3 separate regions of the Homo sapiens genome follow, and regions 1 and 2 are each linked to region 3. Evidence: promoter capture Hi-C in 16 types of primary human blood cells and fetal thymus (Javierre and others, 2016). All regions are on one chromosome and are shown on one strand. Each heading gives the region's core, a stretch centred on a gene start or on the middle of the fragment in contact. The rest is flanking DNA. Distances are from core to core; before and after follow the strand shown.

Region 1 (4,611 bases), core at 2,045-4,544, 140 kb after region 3:
AAATGTTTCTGAAAATGATTCTATGACCTGGCTATTAATAGGGATGAAAACAAGTTTGAAAATTAAGAGAGAATGAGAAGTTAGATGGGAAGTTGCATGCAACTTGGGTTCTTTCCCTGCAAAGTAAGGCAAAGCAGACACAAGAGAGGACTTGAGCTTACACTCATTTTGGAGGAAAATTCCTTGTGATGCTACCCTCCCCACATCCCTGGAGCCCCCACCCCACACCATAAACCTGATCCTTGAAATAATTAAAATCCACTTCTACAAAAGGGAAAATACTAAGTAGATTGATTTTAAACCTTCCACAGTAATGCAGTATGTATCAGGGCAACAGTGGTGTTGGATTGATACTAGGAGAGAAATTCAGTCTTTGCCAGAGCAGTGACTTTATAGCCAACTCCTCATCATGTCAACCTGAAATAATCTAAAGGGTCAGATTCCAATTTTAGAGAGTTTATTCAAGCAAAAAGCTGGGAATGGCCATTTCTGGATGCTCTGTCCCAGAGAAATGGGGGTAGTGCTCTGAAGTTAAAAGCTAAATTCTCTTTTATATAGGAAAAAGCAAAGAAATTTAACAAGATTACAACATTTTCAATACAGGGCCAGTTTATGAGTTACAACAAATTAATCAGTTTCTTTTCTTTTCTTTTCCATGCAGCTTGTTTTCTTTTCTTTATCGCTCCTTTTCATTTCCTTTTGATTTTAAAAGAGTGTGCTTAACATTCCATCTTGAGGCATTGAGATGGCCATAAAGTTTTTGTGTGAGAAGAAAGAGGTTAATCTATAATGAAAGTCAATAGTAAGAGGGAAGGGGTCTCCTCTGGCATCCTTCACTGATATGGACAGGAAACAGGGAAATACTGGGTAGAAGGGGGCGGTTCCCCAACAAACGGCCCACCCTCAAGCCTGAAGACCGGCAGCCCTAAAGGAGGACAGGCATTTCTGTTTTCATGGCCAAAATTTGCCTTTTGGCCTGCCATGCACCCCCCATCCTGCCCCCATACAAACCCAAGACCTTAGCGGGCACATACACAAGAAGCTGGACATCAAGACCAGCAGACCAGTGGACCAGTGAACCAGCAGACCAGTGACAGTGGAACAATGCAGCAGAGAAAGAGAGAAAAGGAAGGATGTCTGGACTCATAGGGGAGCTTGGCCAGGGGTGGCTGGAGAAGAGTTGGGCCGCTGGATGCCCGACTCCAGGGAAAGACCACCTTCCCACTCCATCCCCACTTCTGCCTCCCCATCCATCTCACTGAGAGCCACCTCCACCACTCAATGAAACCTTGCACTCATCCTTCAAGCCCATGTGTGATCTGATTCTTTCAGGACACTGGACAAGAGCTTGGGATAAAGAAAGTTGTCACGCTGGCCCCCTGCCCTCACAATAAGGCAGAGGGTCCGTTAAGCTGATTAACACACAAGCCGTCTGCAGACAACAAATCTGAAAGAGCTTTGTAATACATGCCTACATGGGCTTCGAGTGACACAGAGACCCACCCCTAGACTCTGCCGTGGGACAGGAGCCCAAAAGTGCTTGTACTGGCCTCTGCACCTGCCTGTCTGCATGCTCCTCCTTTGAGCTTTGGGGCGACCAAGCAGGTGAGCTACACCTGTCGCACGTCCTACAACCATTCACAACATTTTACAAAATAATGTAGGTAAGGGAAAAGACAATTCAGACAATCAAAAATATTACAAAAAGTTCACAGCTGCCTAGTTTACAGCTGCCTGTCTTGTGACTCAGGCCCCATAATTCACATTTCCTTATGGCTCAAAATAATTTAGAGTTCCAACAGCTTAGATTTTGAATCACTTATTTTCACAATCACAAAGCATAGTAGGAGTCCCAGAGAGAGAGCATAGCTCACACATAATCCAAAAGTCTTTTGTAGCCCATAGTTTCAAAATCACTCTCCCCAAGAAAGGTGAGGAAAGCTGGTATCATAGAAACCAAATGGGCCCGTCTGAGTTTCATTTCCCTCCCGCTGAGAGGTAATGATGAAACACCATACAAGTACTGCTTTGAAAAGCACCTGGATTCCCCAGGTTCTTTTAGATTACCTCATGGGAAATAAAATAGAAACAAATTTAAAACTATAACTAGGTTGGTTTTTTGTTTGTTTGTTTACCAGTTAAGACCTTAGGTAGGTACATGCTATGGGCTGAATTGTCTTCCTGCAACCTCCGCCAAATGTATATGTTGAACTCCAAACCTCTAGTACCTCAGAATGTTCCTGTTTTGGGACATGATAAAAGAAAAACTTCAGTCGGTTTAAATTTAAAGGAGTTTAATTGAGCAATGAACGTTTCACAAATCAGACAGCCCCCAGAATCACAGCAGATTCACAAAGACTCCAGCGCAGCCATGTGGTGGAAGATTTATAGACCAAAAAAAAAAAGAGAAATGACGTTCAGAAATTGGAAGTGAGGTACAGAACGGCTGGATTGGTTAGAGGTTGGCGTTTGCCTTATTTGAACACAGTTTGAGCACTAAGCAGTGTATGAATGGTTGAAATATGGCTGCTGGGATTGGCTAGGATTTAGCTATTGTTACAGGTGCATACTACTAAGTTAGGTTTTCAATTTTATCTGCCTATTAAGTTAGGTTACGGTTCATCCGCAAGGACTCAAATATAGAAGTAGGGAGTCCTTCTCAGGCTATAGTTTGCTTTAACAGACATAAAGGCTTTAAAGAGGTAATTAAGGTAAAATGAGGTTATTGGCATGGGTCCTAATGTAATCTGACTGGTGTCCTTATAAGATTAGGACACAGACACACAGAAGGAAGACAATCTGAAGTCACAGATCTACAAGCCAGGGAGAGGGGCCTCAGAAGTCAACCTGCTGACACATTGATCTTAGATTCACAGCTTCCAGAACTGTGAGAAAACAAATTTTTGTTTTCTGAGTCACCTAGCGTCCTTCTGGCACTTTTTTATGGCAGCCCTAGTGAACTAATATAGTATATTAACTTCTCCACAATTTTAGTGCATATTTAAAAATCCACCCTTAGGGAGTTGCTTACTAATCTGTCTCTCACTTTTAATGCTTTGTTGACGTCCACATTGCATCAGAGCCATGTCAGAATAACTGAAATAATAGCACAGCCAGTCTGGAGGTTTGGGCTGTCAGATTCGTAACCCTTGATCCAACTCTGTGGACATCATCGACATGTACAGTTTGTTACGATCTCCGCTTTACAGATATGAAAAATGGGGCTTGAAGAGGCTACAATACTTGTTCGAGTTCGGCAACTGGAGAAGGGAAGGGCTAGGATTTGAACCTAGATGGCTTGAGTCAGAGGGTGTGCTCTTAACAATTATGGGACACTGTCTCCCTAAGCAGGGAGGAGAGGAACTGTGATATTGAAACTGCCTTTGCAAAATTATGACTGAGACAGTGAAAGAGATCTGACCTAACCAACTCCATCTTCCTTCTAACCTTTAAGCTGTCCTTGTCCCTTCCTGGGCATAGACCGAGCTAACTTTGGGAGGAATTTATAGTTTACAACAAAGACCATAACAGCCCTTTCCCAAAACAAGCCTCCTTCTTGCCTGGGGACTAGACTGCCTTTATAGGACCAATTAGCCACAAGATTTGAAATTATGTTTTAGGACTTACGCAGCTGGAGGCTACAGGATTCTGACCCTCCCTAAACTGCTCATAAGATTAGTGCTTGAAATATTTTGCAGATATTTTGATGGATCAGCTGGCACCACCCAGACTGATAAACTGGCTCACCTGATCTTGTGGCCCCCACCCAGGAATTGACTCAGCACAAGAGGACAGCTTCAACTTGCCATGATTTCATCTCTGACCCAACCAAGCAGCACTCTCAATTCACTGGTCTTCCCCCACCCACCAAGTTATCCTTAAACACCCTGGGCCAGGCCCAGTGGCTCACGCCTGTAATCCAAGCACTTTGGGAGGCTGAGACAGGCAGATCACAAGGTCAAGAGATCGAGACCATCCTGGATAACATGTGAAACCCCGTCTCTACTAGAAATACAAAAATTAGCTGGGCATGGTGGCAGGCACCTGTGGTCCCAGCTACTCGAGAGGCTGAGGCAGGAGAATCACTTGAACCTGGGAGGCAGAGGTTGCAGTGAGCTGAGATCGCGCCACTGCACTCCAGCCTGGCAACAGAATGAGACTCCATCTCAAAAAAAAAAAAAAAGACCTGTGATCCCCAAATGCTCAGGAAGACTGATTTGAGTAATAATGAAACTCTGGTCCCCCACACAGCCGGCTCCGTGTAAATTATTCTTTCTCTATTGCAATTCCCCTGTCTTGATAGATTCTGTCTAGGCAGCAGGCAAGGTGAACCCACTGGGTGGTTACAATATATCTGAGCTTTAGTGACTGAGAGAAAGGTTGAATCACTGGCAGAAACAGAGAAGATCCCAAAGTCTTCTTGTGAAGAGAAACGTGATGAGGTGGATGTTAGACCTGTTAATTTCAATGGAGAGCCTTCACACAGAGCTGGGAGATTCATGGCAGGGCCATGGGTGAAGAACTGGGGCTTCTCCATTTAAGGCATGGAAGCAGAGGAGACCTCTAAGCAGAAAATTGCAAAGAAGAGAATTACAAATCCTTCCTTTGGGT
Region 2 (4,271 bases), core at 1,240-3,739, 160 kb after region 3:
ATCTCCAAACTCATTAAGTTGTACACATTAACTATGTATGGCTTTTTGTATAGCAGTCTTACCTCAAGTAATTTTTTTTAACGAGTAGGAATTAACCAATGAAAGTGCTGAAAAAAAATTGGGAGGATTCAAGGGACTTTTTTGCAGCCAAAGGCCAAAAATGGACTCTTTTTGCATTTCTGCTGAAACAATCTTTACTAAGTTCATGGATGCCTCCGGCTGCAAGGGAGCGGGAGGAGTGTCTTGTATATTACACGCTTTGCATGGTTTAGTTTATAATGAGAACTTGCTGCTTAAAGACTAATGAAGACAAAGAAAATAATGAAAAGCTTTAAAATTAAACTTGTGTGAAAGCTTTAGTCTCCAGGAAACTCTAGTCATTTTTAAAAAGCCACTTAGGATTTACTGATAAATAATTCTACTTGCAAAGAATAGAAACATCGTTTATTAAATCTGGACAATATTTACTATATAATAGGGTATGAAATAAAATTTTTCCGTTATCTTATTTTTGGCTGAGCCCCCAAAACCAATTCAATAGATGTCAAATAACCTCCTAGAAGGAATTCTTTATAGGCTTGTCTATGTGGTGTGAACTGAAGAGAGCAAAGAAGGTGTACATTTGGTGCCTGAGAGATACCACATAAGAATGTCTTTTTACCCCCAACAAGAACACTATCGGGAATTACTTTTTCTTGGCAGTGAGTAGAAAGTGAAGCCCAAAGGTCTAGGACAAAAGACACACAAATGTTGTCAGGATTTACAAGGCATGGGAGATCCAGAACATGGTAAACGGCATTGGAAGGTTGAAATGGAGTATACGGTATAGAAGAAGGGTCAGGGGACAAATAGGAAGTGGAAAGACTAAGGGCTTGTTTTCCCATACACAGGTGTGTCTAAGTGTCTGTATGTGTGTCTCTGTGTGTGTCTATGTGTGTCTGTGTGTCTGTATGTGTCTATGTGTGTATCTGTGTGTATGTGTCTACGTGTGTGCCTGATGTGTCTGTGTCTGTATGTCTGTGTGCATGTGTGTGTGCCTGTGTCTGTGTATATGTCTGTGTGTCTGTATGTCTGTGTATATGTCTGTGTGTCTGTGTGTGCATGTGTGTCTGTATGTGTGTCTCCATATGTGTCTGTGTGTCTGTGTGTGTCTGTGTGTGTCTGTGTGTGTCTGTGTGTGCCTGTGTATATGTGTGTGTCTGTATGTGCCTGTGTCTGTATGTATCTGCGTGTGTGTCTGTGTGTCTGCAGTGTCTGTACTTGTGTCTGTGTGTCTGTGTGTGTGTCTATGTGTGTCTGTGTGTGTCTGTATATATGTCTGTATGTGTTTGTAGTGTCTGTATTTGTGTCTGTGTGTCTGTGTGTGTCTGTCTGTGTCTGCATGTGTGTCTGTGTGTCTGCAGTGTCTGTACTTGTGTCTGTGTGTGTGTCTGTGTGTGTGTCTGTATGTTATATGTCTGTATGTGTGTTTGTATTGTCTGTATTTGTGTCTGTGTGTGTGTCTGTGTGTGTGTGTGTGTGTCTGTGTCTGTATGTGTGTCTGTGTATGTGTCTGTGTGTATATGTCTGTGTATGTGTCTGTGTGTGTGTCTGTGTCTGTATGTCTGTGTCTGTGTATGTGTCTGTATGTGTCTGTGTGTGTCTATGTGTTTGTGTGTTTGTGTGTGTGTGTGTGTGTGTGAGAGCATGTATCTATGCCTCCATGTGTGGCAGCAGCAAGGAATGCAGAGGGTTGCAGGGGCAAAGCAGGTGGGATATTGCCAAAAAGAGGAAATCAACTATTTTGCATGAGTGTGTAAGAGTTCAACTTTTCCACATTTCAATGTCTCTTTATCCATTTTCCAAAATCATCTTAATTCTATAATTGAAAGGTAAATATATTTAAATCCCATGAAGGTACTTCCACATATTAGTGTACATCGTGGGCTATTCTGAGGTGATTCATGCTTCAGAGAAGATGAATATTGGTATTTTTTTGCATCTTAGTATGGAGGGTTAGGAAAAATATTTTAAATGTATTTATAGTCCTTGTTCTTTCTAAATCGTGTACCTCACAATTTTGAGATTTTTCCAACCAGAGACAATTAATTAGTTCAGTGGAATTATCATGGTGCACCAGTTTCAAAACTTAAAGAGAGTTTTAGAATATCTGTGTATGATTTGCTAGGAGGTGACTTGAACCTCATCTACTTCACCTTCCTTCAGTTTCCATTCAGGAGGAGTACAAAGATTAATAGGGATTTCTTTGTATGTTTGTCCCACCTCCCCCTGGGAGAGTAGCTGGAGCGCTTCTCTCCCATTCTCATATTGCCTTAGTTAGTTCAGACTGCCATAACAAAAATGTCATAGGCTGAGTGGCTTAGGCAACAGAAATTTATTTCTCACAGTTTTGGAGGCTGGAAGTGAAGACCCAGGTGCAGGCTGAATCAGTTCTTGGTATGTCCTCACATGGTGGAGAGAGAGGAAGCAAGCGCTCTCCTGTCTCTTAAAAGGGCACCAGTCCCATCATGAGGGCTCCACCTAATTACCTCCTGAAGTCTCCACCTCCTCATACCATCATCTTAGGGATTACAGTTTCAGCATATGAATTTAGGCGGGGCGGGGGACACACGTTCAGTCCATAGCGCATGCCAAATGAGAGTCTTCAGAATAACTGCTTATAGAGACTGGGGTGTCTGGCAGGAAGGGAGTAAGACAGCTTACCACTACCACACCCTTCCCATCGTCCCCCACCCCTAGCCAGCTGGAGCCAGCTAAATTGGGGCAGGTTCTGGGCCCCAGCAACAGCACGGGCCCTGAGAGGAACTGGAGTTTCCTGGACTTACAGGGACACAGGACAGGTGTCTGATTCTCATCTGACAAAGTCTAATGAGAGGCCAGCTAGAGCTCCCTTCTAAGCAAAGTGAAGAGAAGCGGCCTACACCTTCATACCCTGTCTGAGGCCAGGTGCTGAGTGCTCTATGGGTTAAATGGAGACTATGGAAGGTAACCGTCTTGGGAACACTTGAAAGGGCCATATAGAAGGCATCTGCCTGGCAGGGCAAAGCAACCCCTAAAGGAGAGGCTATGGGATCTGATCAGATGAGGTTGCTAAGCAAGGCTCATAAGCAGTCATCTGATCACATGGCTTACTTCACAACCAAGTCTTTCATACTCAAAGCCAGAGAACAAGGTAGTGAGAGGACCCTTTGGGCATTTTCAGAAACTACTTCATGAGAGAAAGTGTGGAGGGTGCATTTGGGCATCTGCCTCCCAGAGGGCTGGAAACAGCCAGTTGTAACAGTGCCAGCCAACTAAGACTGTGCTATGCCTCTAGTCTTCCCACTCTCCTGCATTCTACCCTAGAGGCGTGAGGAACCGTGGATGAGAGAAAAGGTGGTCAGGAGGACCAGAGAAGCTGACCGCAACACCCCTTCCCCACTGTAGGCTTCCAGGACCCAGGCACCTGAGCTGTGGGGGGATGGGAGAAGGTTTAAATTGGACAAGTGATTGAAAGTTTGATGTTACCCTAGGTTGGACTTTTTGTTTCCAATTTTTTAAATTGTGTTAAAATACATATAACTAAAATTTACTGTCTTAGTCATTTTTAAGTATATGTTCAGTGGTATTAAATACATTTATAATGTTGTACAACCATTATCACCATCGATCTCCATAACTCTTCAGTAAAACTAAAATTCTGTACACATAAACCACTAACTCTCCACTTTCCTCTCCCCCTTGCCCTTGGGAAACACCATTCTACTGTCTCTATCAATTTGCCTACCCTAAGTGCCTCATATAAGTAGAATCAAACAATATTTGTCTTTTTATGACTGGTTTATTTCATTTAACATAATATCCTCAAGTTCATCCATGTTGTAGCATATTTCAGAATTTCTTTCCTTTTTAAGGCTGAGTAATATTCCTTGTATGTATTTACCACATTTTGCCTGTCTAGCCATCAATCAATAGATAATTGTGTTGCTTCTACATATTAGCTATTGTGAATATAATGCTGCTATAATCATGGGTGCACCACTTTCATTTCTTTGGGTATATACTCAGAAGCATAATTACTGGATCATATGGTAATTCTATTTTTTAATTTTTCGAGGATCCACCACCATACCATTTTCCACAACAGTGTACCATTTTGCATTCCTACCAATAGTGTACAAGCGTTCCAATTTCTCTACATCCTCACCAACACTTGTGATTTTCTGTGTTGTTTTAAATAGTAGCCATCCCAATGAGTGTCAAGCGGGATCTCCTTTTAGTTTTGATTTGTA
Region 3 (4,409 bases), core at 706-3,205:
TTAGAGGGAGAGAACCCTTAAGAGGAAGGGGAAACCTTGGGTTTCACAGGCATGAACAGCAGTGTTTCTTCTCTCTGAGATATGCCTCCCATACCCACAGCCCCTTTTTTTTCATCATACTGGGATCCTATATTCCTGATTGCCTACTTTCCAGGTGAGTTATCTCCTCTGGAGTTCCCACCTCTCTACTGGATCTCTTATGTAACCACCTGATATGGTTTGGCTGTGTCCCCACCCAAATCTCATCTTGAATTGTAGCTCCCATAATTCCCATGTGTTGTGGGAGGGACCCGGTGAAAGAAAATTGAATCGGTTTCCCCCATACTGTTCTCAAGGTAGTGAATAAGTCTCACAAGATCTGACAGTTTCGTAAGGGGTTTCCCCCTTTCCTTGGCTCTCATTCTCTCTTGCCTGCTGCCATGTAAGATGTGCCTTTCACCTTCTGCCATGATTGTGAAGCCTCCCCAGCCTCATGGAACTGTGAGTCCATTAAACCTCTTCTTTCTTTATAAATTACCCACTCTCAGGTATGTTTTTATCAGCAGTTTGAAAACAGACTAATACACTATCCTCAATGCCTTTCTAATTCTACCCATTGTACATGGATTGGACTCCTCAATGCCAACTCCATTCATGAAATACTTTCCAAGCCCTTTCATACCCAGCATGTACAAATTGTCCCCAGCACCTTCTTAACAAGTATGTCTGAATAACAGAAAACTACAATAATAATGCATGTCAGAATTATATGATGTAAAGATGTGTCTGTCACTGCTACCAGCTCTATCTATACCTCTTTCTCTGTAATCCTTATAACCATCTGACACATTAGGTCACATAGCTATTTAGCGGTGGACTTGAGCTTCGAATCCAGGTGTTCTTGGGAAACTTGCAGATCATAGAGAAGCATGAACACAAAGAATAAGTGTGGCCTTCCAGTGGTGGGGGCAGGGTGTCATGAGACACAGAGCAGTGGTAGGTCTTATGCAGAGCCTCTTTAGGGTTTTACACCACTGGTAGAAGAATCTGTCTCTAGACCGAAGAGTTCAAACCGAGAGACTTCTTGCTTTCTCACAAAGACAGGCTTCTGGCCATTTAGCTGCTGGGCTTTTCATCAGCCTTGAGGAATGAGAGACCTTTGTGGAGCTCTTGTTTCTAGGCGTGAGAGCAGGGGAGAGGCTGAAAAGCATCTGACATTCCTGGCGTCCCATTCTCTAGACAAGAGGGGACACTCATAAGGGCCTAAATACCTGTCCAAAGGCTTCAGTCACAATCCCTACTCTGTAAGGAAAATCTTGGCATCATTTCATCCCATACAACTAAGAAGAAAGATATATATCATGATAGCATATGGATGTGTTAACCATCTTCCCCCATTTTCACGTTTTAAGAATTTTAGGGCCGTGCATGGTGGCTCACGCCTGTAATCCCAGCACTTTGGGAGGCTAAGGCTGGCAGATCACAAGGTCAGGAGATCGAAACCATCCTGGCCAACATGGTGAAACCCCCGTCTCTACTAAAATACAAAAAATGAGCCAGGCGAGGTGGTGTGCGCTTGTAGTCCCAGCTACTCGGGAGGCTGAGACAAGGGAATTGCTTGAACCCAGGAGGCAAAGGTTGCAGTGAGCCAAGATCATGCCACTGCACTCCAGCCTGGCGACAGAGCAAGACTCTGTCTCCAAAAAAAAAAAAAAAAATTTTAGGTCTGGGGTGAGTTGGAGTATTGCTGAGGAGAACCTTTCTCAAGGGCAGGGCTCTCGGAGATCATGTTCTCATGGGTCCCCGGGACCGGTCCTCAGGCTCGCTAGTTTAAGGTGAGTGGAGTGGTCTCTAGGAGCAGAGCATGATAACAACGCTAGGTCACTCATTTACAACGGACTGTAATAAACTACCTTTTTCCTTCCACCAGGGGGCACCATTCACATAGACTTCAACAGCAGTGGCATCAACAGGCCTACAAAGTGGTGGTGGTAAAAAACACACTTGAGACCATCATATGTATCTGAAATCAGATACGATACCTGAAAAACATAAATCAAATTAATGCTCATATGGTTGCTTGCTGTCCAAGGAATTCAAAGCAAAGGTGGAAACTGACCCTTACATCACTTCTTCCTTCTAGATGAATAGCATCAGCTACATTTTCTTTCCCATTATGTAATGTTTCTATTCTGACCACCCACCTGTGATGGACATAGTCTTTTTAGATGTGTTAGTTTTAATATTAGTCAAGACTTAGTCTCAACCGTTCTCTATTAAGTGACTTTGCAGATATCTGATGTCATCTCCATTAATGCAGATTTTCATGTCAGATTCAGCTCTGAGTTCACCTTAATGCGGTGGTGGTTCCCATAGTGTAGTGCCCAGGCCCCCGCATCAACATCACTTGGGAACTTGTTAGAAAGGCAAGTTCCTGGTTCCCAACTCAGACCTACCTACCAAGTCAGAAATCTAAGTGTGGGGCCTGCAATCTGTGTTTTTACAAGCCTAACAGGGGATACTAATGCATGCTAAAGTTTGAGAACCACTGACTTAATATACAGTTTCCAACCCGGATGACACTAGAAACAACTACGGGACTTTACAAAAATATGGGTGTCCTGGCTTCCCCCAGAGCCACTAGGGTAGTGGAAACAAATGTCACTATCAAATGGATCTGGGTTTGAATTCTGGTTTTGTCACTCACCAGCTATGTGCCTTGTGGAGGCTCCATCTTCTCATCTGTAAAGTAAAAGTCATCGGACCTGCCTTGTAGGAAGGTGTAGGAGGGGAAGGTTCAGCAAATGCCTCATAGAGAGATTGACTCATAGTACATCTTCTTCCTTGGCCTCCACCGCAACTAGAATCTTATTCACCCGGCCTGTGAGGGTACAGTTCTCACCTTGCCCCAGAATCACCAGGTGAGAATGATTTGCTAGACCCGCTTTCTGAAGTTTCACAAATGGACAAACATTTTCACAGCTGTTACTGGGATTTTGCCATAAATCAGCAGGAACACACCCGAGATCTGACAAAGCTATTTCAAACTCTAGATCAATGAGGAGGGAAGTTGCTATGAAGCCGGGTTTGCCAACTGAGAGCATTGTAATTGTTCGAGTTGCTCTTGGGATCTAGCTCAGATTCCTGCTGACACCAGAGAAGTGAAGAATGAAAATAGTTGCCTAGAAAATCAGAAGCAGCTCCCCAAGTTACCTGCCACATACAGGTTTGTTTTTCCTTAATTATCTAGGTAATTGCTTTGCTTCCTCTACCTGCCTTTACCAAGAGATGCCTGGCCAGAAGAGCGAGGAATTAAAGTACCTGTGGAGGCTGCCCACCGAGTGAAGCTGCAGGCTGCCCATCCCATCGCAGTAGCTCCTTAGTTGTCAGTAGGTTGTTTCTATGAATGCCCCCTCCATCAGAAACCAATGAGGTTTTTCCAATTAATCTAAATCCCTGCTCTTGTGGAACTGGTGCGGAGACAGTGGTTAAATGCTAAATTGTCAGCCCAAAGTCAAATCCTTTTATTTAAAAACATAATATGCAGAATGGCTTCCTAAAACAAAAATTGGGAAAATTGTTAACATAGAGACTTCCAGGTTTTGCCAAGGGTACAACTGTTTTCTTAAACACAGTTTTTAACAATTACGTACAAATCAAACCAAAGTTCATCCAACCCACTCTCTGAATTAGTCTCAGTACAATGCGCATAGACAGCTATCACTAGAGTTAGTGAATATTATGGGAAAAATTAGAGGCAAAAGTTGAGACTGGAGCCGGTGAGAGTTAACAAAAACACTATTTATATAGAGAAAAATACATTTTAGAGAAGTATAAACATACTGCTTGGCATCAACATAAAAGCCCAAGTGCAAGTCAAAGGTAACCCAAAAGGCTCATAGGTCCTCAGACTACAGAAACCCCCCTACTGATGGCAACAGAAGGTCTGGCCTTCCACATGCTACTTCCTTAGTGTTTGTGGGGGAAAAAAAAATCCCACTGTATAAATTAGAATAGGCCAGATCATGCTACAGTAACAAATAACCCCAAAGTCTCAGTAGCTTACAACCACAAAGGTTTACCTCTTTCCCACTGTATTCAGGGTTTTCCAGAGAAACAGAACCAATAAGGGATTTAATAGAGAGAGAGGGGATGAGGGGGAGAGATAGTGATATGGTTTGGCTCTGTGTCCCCACCCAAATCCCACCAGGAACTGTAATCCCCATAATCCCCATGTGTCAAGGTCAGGACCAGGTGGAGGTAATTGGATCATGGGTGCAGTTCCCCCAAGCTGTTCTTGTGATAGTGAGTTCTCACGATATCTCATGGTTTTATAAGCATCTGGCATTTCCCCAGCTTGCACTCTATCCTGCCACCCTTGTGAAGAAGGTGCCTGCTTCTCCTTTACCTTGCGCCATGATTGTAAGTTA

The links. Contacts are between HindIII fragments. The CHiCAGO score rates a contact against its expected background, and 5 or more counts as called.
Region 1: a contact is called between a fragment that was not itself captured here and the fragment with the promoter of BACH1-IT2 in region 3, in 1 of 17 cell types (M2 macrophages). The highest score is 5.0, in M2 macrophages.
Region 2: a fragment that was not itself captured here is called in contact with the fragment with the promoter of BACH1-IT2 in region 3 in 1 of 17 cell types (naive B cells); the score reaches 5.5 in naive B cells.

Annotation. Positions count from the first base shown.
Region 1 is chr21:29,231,124-29,235,734 of GRCh38, reverse strand. The region is part of intron 1 of LINC00189 (long intergenic non-protein coding RNA 189); the gene reads right to left. Among named protein-coding and RNA genes, the nearest start is that of LINC00189, 40 kb to the right of the region's middle. RefSeq lists enhancers at 1,499-1,598, 2,029-2,208. The HindIII fragment of the contact is 9,137 bases long and covers 1-4,611 here.
Region 2 is chr21:29,211,021-29,215,291 of GRCh38, reverse strand. The region is part of intron 1 of LINC00189 (long intergenic non-protein coding RNA 189); the gene reads right to left. Among named protein-coding and RNA genes, the nearest start is that of LINC00189, 20 kb to the right of the region's middle. The HindIII fragment of the contact is 4,266 bases long and covers 357-4,271 here.
Region 3 is chr21:29,370,047-29,374,455 of GRCh38, reverse strand. BACH1-IT2 (BACH1 intronic transcript 2) reads right to left here and starts at 1,955. Exons shown (of 2, transcript NR_046564.2): 1 at 1,893-1,955; 2 at 476-1,214. The HindIII fragment of the contact is 7,280 bases long and covers 1-4,409 here.